Linked DNA regions of Homo sapiens: region 1 is linked to region 2. The links are contacts of gene promoters, found by promoter capture Hi-C in blood cells and fetal thymus (Javierre and others, 2016). All regions are on one chromosome and are shown on one strand. The core of a region is centred on a gene start or on the middle of the fragment in contact, and the rest is flanking DNA. Distances in the headings are between cores, read along the strand shown. Region 1 overlaps SYN3 (synapsin III). Region 2 holds the start of BPIFC (BPI fold containing family C).

What was found. The method cuts DNA at HindIII sites, captures the fragments that hold promoters and counts their contacts. A CHiCAGO score of 5 or more calls a contact.
Region 1: a contact is called between a fragment that was not itself captured here and the fragment with the promoter of BPIFC in region 2, in 2 of 17 cell types (M0 macrophages and M1 macrophages). The highest score is 6.3, in M0 macrophages.

Annotation. Positions count from the first base shown.
Region 1 is chr22:32,983,273-32,986,112 of GRCh38, reverse strand. The region is part of intron 2 of SYN3 (synapsin III); the gene reads left to right. Among named protein-coding and RNA genes, the nearest start is that of SYN3, 74 kb to the left of the region's middle. RefSeq lists a silencer at 1-29. The HindIII fragment of the contact is 633 bases long and covers 1,032-1,664 here.
Region 2 is chr22:32,463,196-32,466,176 of GRCh38, reverse strand. BPIFC (BPI fold containing family C) reads left to right here and starts at 1,731. Exons shown (of 17, transcript NM_174932.3): 1 at 1,731-1,803. The HindIII fragment of the contact is 5,490 bases long and covers 1-2,006 here.

The sequences.
Region 1 (2,840 bases), core at 99-2,598, 520 kb before region 2:
ATTGTGCTGGATACTGGAGACACAGTGAGCATGGAGACTCAGTTTCTGGTTTCCAGGAGCTCACAGACTATATGTTTGGGGGCAGAGGGCAGCTAAGTGATGTGTAATGACAACGTGAAGTGGTAAGGGCTGGAATGGTTGTAAGTGCAGCGTGCTGTAGGAACCAAGGGAGGACGCTCAGCCCAGCTAGGGAAGGGGGTGCTGTCAAGGAAAACTCAGCAGAGTAGATATCACTCATAGGATCTTGAAACATGAGAAAGAGACAATCAAGGAAGTGCCAAGCAGAGGTGAAGGCCTGTGCAGAGGTTCAGAGGCAGGACAGCACAGGAGTATTTAGAGAAGCACAGGAATTTGGATGCAACCATGAAATAGACAGCAAACTGGAGGGGAAGCAGACCCCCAGTCAGCAGGGTCCAGATCATGAAGGACGCCAGGGCTCTGGACTGGATCCAAAAAGTCTGAAAGACCACTTAGGGTCTCCAGGAAAGGTACCCAAATTCTTCCCTCTAGAGTTTGGGTACCCAGATCACTCGTGTGACTTTGAGCAGAGACTTCTCCATCTGGAACACGTTGGGAGCAATCCCTGCCCTACCACCCCTCAGGGTTGGCATGAGGGTCAAATAGGAGGAAGGATGTGAAGGGTCTGGCTGTCCTTATAGGCCAAGGCCACCTCTTTTCCCCATCACCAGCCATCACTCCTTGCACCTGTGAGACAGATCAAAGCAAGGTGAGTCATAATTCTGCTTTGGAACCCCCAAGAGGGTAAGATTGTTTTGTTTATTTGTGGGTCCCCAGCACACAGCACCCACTAGGCACAGGGTAAGCACTCGATAGCTCTTTGCTCTTGTGGATTCTGTTTCAGGCCATGGACTACATACTTTGCAGCTTACTGTGTGCCAGGAACTATTCTCAGTGCTTTGTATGCCTTGTTTCATTTAATCCTCATAACAACCCTGTGAGGTGGCTACTACTATGAGCCTCATTTCCTAGGTGTGGAAACTAAGGCATTCAGAGGTTGGCTTACCCAAGCTTGCACAAGTGAGTGGAGGAGTTGGGGTCCTATCCAGGCTGTATGCCCTGAAGCCATTGCACTTTACTGCCTTGTTGCATAGAGGATTATGTGACTTTCTCACCACACCCTTCCCTGGTAGTTACTGTCACCACTTGACAAATGAGGAAACTGAGACCCAGAGGGCTAAGTGTCTTGTCTTAGAACACATGGTCAGTGAGTAGTAGAGCTAAGATTTTGCCCAAGCCTGTGTGATTGCAAATCCATGTTTTTTTTCCCAGTATGCTGGTGATTGTAATGATAGGTTACCATTCCCGGTCCCAGGCCCACCCAGTACTTCTTTTAAATTTGGAGCTTGGATTTAAAAGCAAGTGATTTTTAAATCCACGAAAGATGCCTACCTTGGATCCTGCTCTGGTCCTTATTAGCCACACCTCTCTTGACAGGCAGAGGAGTTAGGAGTGAGGGGATATTCCCACCAAGACCCTACAAATTGCACTCTTAGGCCATGCCCTGGGTACCCAAACTCTAGAATTCCCTCCTCAAAGGGACCTTAACCCAACTTCAGAGCCTATATAGGCCAATTCCTTGGTCCATTTTCCAAGGGGTGGCCAAAGGACAACCATTTGGGGAGGGGAAGGGAGTAGATGAAGCTTGGCCACGTGGTCTGGGCAATCCACATACCCGCACCAGGAGCCTCAGTGGTGCAGAGGAGAGTGGGTGGGGAATTAAGGAAGATCTTGGGTGAGGTCTGAGAACCAAGAGCTGGCAATCCTTGTGCTGCCACGTGCTGGGTAGAGTGCAAAGAATTCTGAGAAGTTTACATTCTGAGTCTTTAAGGTCATTATGAAATTGTATCTGCCAAGGAAGGAAGACAGACTCTTTGGGACTCTTTTTTTCTTTTTTCTTTTCTTTTTCTTTTTCTTTTTTTTTTTTTTTTTTGGATGGAGTTTCATTCTTGTCGCCCAGGTTGGAGTACAATGGCGCAATCTTGGCTCACTGCAACTTCTGCCTCCCAGGTTCAAGCGATTCTCCTGCCTCAGCCTCTCCTGCCTCAGCTGGAATTACAGGCGCCCACCACCACTCCTGGCTAATTGTTTGTATTTTTAGTAGAGATGGGGTTTCACTATGTTGGCCAGTCTGGACTCCAACTCCTGACCTCGTGATCCGCCTGCCTCAGCCTCCCAAAGTGCTGGGATTACAGGCATGAGCCACCATGCCCAGTGGACAGATGTCTTTTATTTAAATGTTTGCTGGCTTGATTTTGTCAATTTTAAATATTAGACATATGACCCATAGGTTTCCATTTGTCGCTTTGCCCCAGGCACTTCAAATACTAGACATGGGCTTGTCCTGGTGTCTGGAATTTGCTGATACTACCTTTAAGGATTACGATAAAATTCACAAACTGTATGAAAAGATTCTCTTTGCATGAGGCTGTCCACATGGGTATTTATTTGAAGACCATTGCTGAAAGAAAAAAAAAATCAAAATCTTGCTTTCGAGTCATACTAATAGTTCCTTTCCTACTAAACTACCGCCTAGTTGACATCTAAGCCCATCAGGACGTAAGAAAAAGTGGTGCTAATATCAGAGCTGTCAGTCAGTTTTGGGAAGAGATTAACTCCACCAGCATCAGCTAAGAGTAGGTAGAGAGACTTTGGAAGCAGACAGGCTGAAGCAGTTAGTGAATTTGTAGAAAGGATTCTTTCACAAATGGAAGGCTGAAAAATAATGGGTGATGACATCCATCTTCCAAGGAAAAGAGTAGGAGACTAAGAAGGTTGTTTAATGCTTAAAAAATTATCCATTAGAAATAAATCATGTGGCT
Region 2 (2,981 bases), core at 482-2,981:
CCGTATCATTATTGATACGGCCACGTGCTAATGAGTAGAATTTCACAGCAGTTTACAGTTTTAATAGCGCATTCTCATGTGTTATTATGTTTTTCTTCACCAGAACCAATCAAGGAAGTTACTATTTCTATCCCCACTTTACCTTAAGGAAACTCAGTTCAAATCAGTAAGTATAACCCAAGGTATAACTCCCCTGAGAAGCTGTGAGAAGTATGGACAATGCCAAGTGAAAGCGTCTGTGGTTCCTTTCAGACTGACTTATCATCCTGATTTTCCCAGGACTGTTCTGGTTTTAGTACTGAAAATCCTGCATTCTTGGGAAACCAGGACAGTTGGTCACCGGGTCTTACCCAGAAAAGTGTAGATAAGCCATAAGAACTTCATGCAATCAGGCTGGGTGCGGTGGATCATGCCTGTAATCCCAGGACTTTGGGAGGCCAAGGCAGGTGGATCACTTGAGGTCAAGAGTTCAAGACCAGCCTGGCCAACATGGTGAAACCCCATCACTACTAAAAATACAAAAATTAGCCAAGTTTGGTGGTGCACACCTGTAATTCCAGCTACTCAGAGGGCTAAGGCACAAGAATCGCTTAAACCCTGGAGGCAGAGGTTGTAGTGAGCCAAGATCATGCCACTGCACTCCAGCCTGGGTGACAGTGAGACTGTCTCAAAAAAAAAAAAACCAAAAAACAAAAAAAAAAACTTCATACAATCAAATCCCTGGCCATCTAAAATACATTAATGGCCGGGTATGATGGCTCACATCTGTAATCCCAGCACTTATGAAGCCAACACGGGTGGATCAATCACATGAGGTCAGGAGTTCGAGACCAGCCTGGCCAATGCAGCGAAACCCTGTCTGTACTAAAAATACAAAAAATTAGCTGGGCGTGGTAGCGCACTCCTGTAATCCCAGCTACTAGGGAGGCTGAGGCAGGAGAATTGTTTGAACCCAGGGGGCGGAGGTTGCAGTGAGCCAAGATCGCTCCACTGCACTCCAGCCTGGGTGACAGAGTGAGACTCCATCTCAAAAAATAAATAAATAAAAATAAAAATAGATAAAACACATTAACTAAAATGAATTTATTGGAGATGAGAGTAGGGCTGGAGTTTGGAATCTGAAAATGTTAAGTTGCATAATAGTTGATGAACCCACCCACCCAACTTAGGTTTAAGGAATGCTGGAACAGTAAGTCATTAATAACATTCTGAAAAGGAGCGGACGGACACTGAGAGATGCCAACTGAGGTCCTACCCTGAGTGATAAGGTAACTAGGTCAGCCCGATTGTCAAGCCTCATGCTTTCAGACTGAATCTGATGATCCACCACAAGTCCCAAAGGTATTCTGGGCAGTAGTAGAGCCATCCACCGCAGGCACCCTGACCAGAAGGAACCAGCTTATGATTCCAGACAGGAAAATTCTTCCTCTTCCAATGCAGTTTAACACCGTTTTCAATCATTTTGGTAAAGTAGCCATCACAATTTCACAAGTGGTGTGTGTGTGTGTGTGTGTGTGTGTGTGTGTGTGTTTTGCAGGAAGATAATTATTGCATAGGTGGCACTGTCTGTTTATCTAGGTAGATACTGTAGTGCTCATTCATGCCATTGGGTAATTGTAGTGAAGCAATTATGTATCACATTTTGAAAGAGGCATTAAAAAAATTCACCACTGAGATGAGTCAGACTTAATTATCTTGGCTTTTTAGCAGCTGAGTTTAAGGCGCAAGGTGGAGAACACATCAGCTTCAAAGGCAGAGAGAATCGAAGGTGCTCTCCAGCTTTGGACACTTCCTCTGCTTGAGGTAAGACTCATGAACAAACTTCAGGTCTCTGCCAGCCATGATCTCCAAACTGGAGATGTCCCAGATTTGGTAGGACACTTTGAACAGGCAGCTGTCATATATCCTGGGTTATTATTATTGTCTGCCTAGATTTTTCTGTATCTTTGTTTGTTTGTTTGTGTGATGTCACATATGCGCACCTGGAGGCTTCTTAGGCAAAAGCTTTAGTGACAGCTAAACAGCCATAAGAGAGAAAAGAGTTGGTTTAAACCACCTACTTAGTTTTGCATCATGGAACAATGTTAAGAGGGTTGCTCAGTGATCTGGACTTATTTTTGCCTCCATTTCAGAGGGGAACCCAGCACAGTGGCAGAAAATTCTATCTTGTCTCTCAAAATCAGCATGGTTAGGACTAAGGAGTTGTTATAATCTCTGTGCTTTCAAGGCAGGTCTTAAAGCACATCAGTGACCTAGATCCTGCCAGAGCAAAACTAGCCACCCACTTGCCTGGACTGTTGAACTTGTTGGTGTTAGGCATAGAGTTTTGGGGAAAAGACATGCTATGAATTCTCAAGGTCCTTGTCATTAGAGATGTTGCTATAAAACTAGATGTGAGGAGTGGATCCCTTGAAATATTCTGCCCACGTTCCATACCTGTCGATTTAGACTTCTTATGTACGGTCATTTTGTCTTAACCAATATGTCGGAATACCCTTCTAGTTTAGACTTCTTTAAACCTGTTGAACTTAATTTTTCAACCTGCGCCTCTGTTTTGAAGGCTACATTTTACTCATTCATTACTCCCTTAATCGGTTTTTCCAGAGTCAGTCAAAGCTCTTGCCAAGCAGCAGTAGTAGTAGGACCATCTGTGAGTTTCAGGTGTTTTCTAAATTGGACTGGCATTTTCTTAGCTGTCAGGATGACTCACACAAGGACCATTTAATTTAGGAGTATTATTCTGTCTGTGTATTTGTATGGAAAAATAATGACTACTGAGATTTTGAATCTTGGAAAGAAGCAATTCCCCAGAAGCAACAAAATAGATAACTTGCTGGTGGGGTTTTTAAGTGATCTTGGATCCTTTTAACAGGCAACTAGCCCTGCCTGCACTTGTCAGCCAAATTACTTAACCTTTTAGTAGTCATCACCTTGCTTGACAAGGTTCCTTTCCTCCCCTGCCCATAAGTTATCATCGTAAC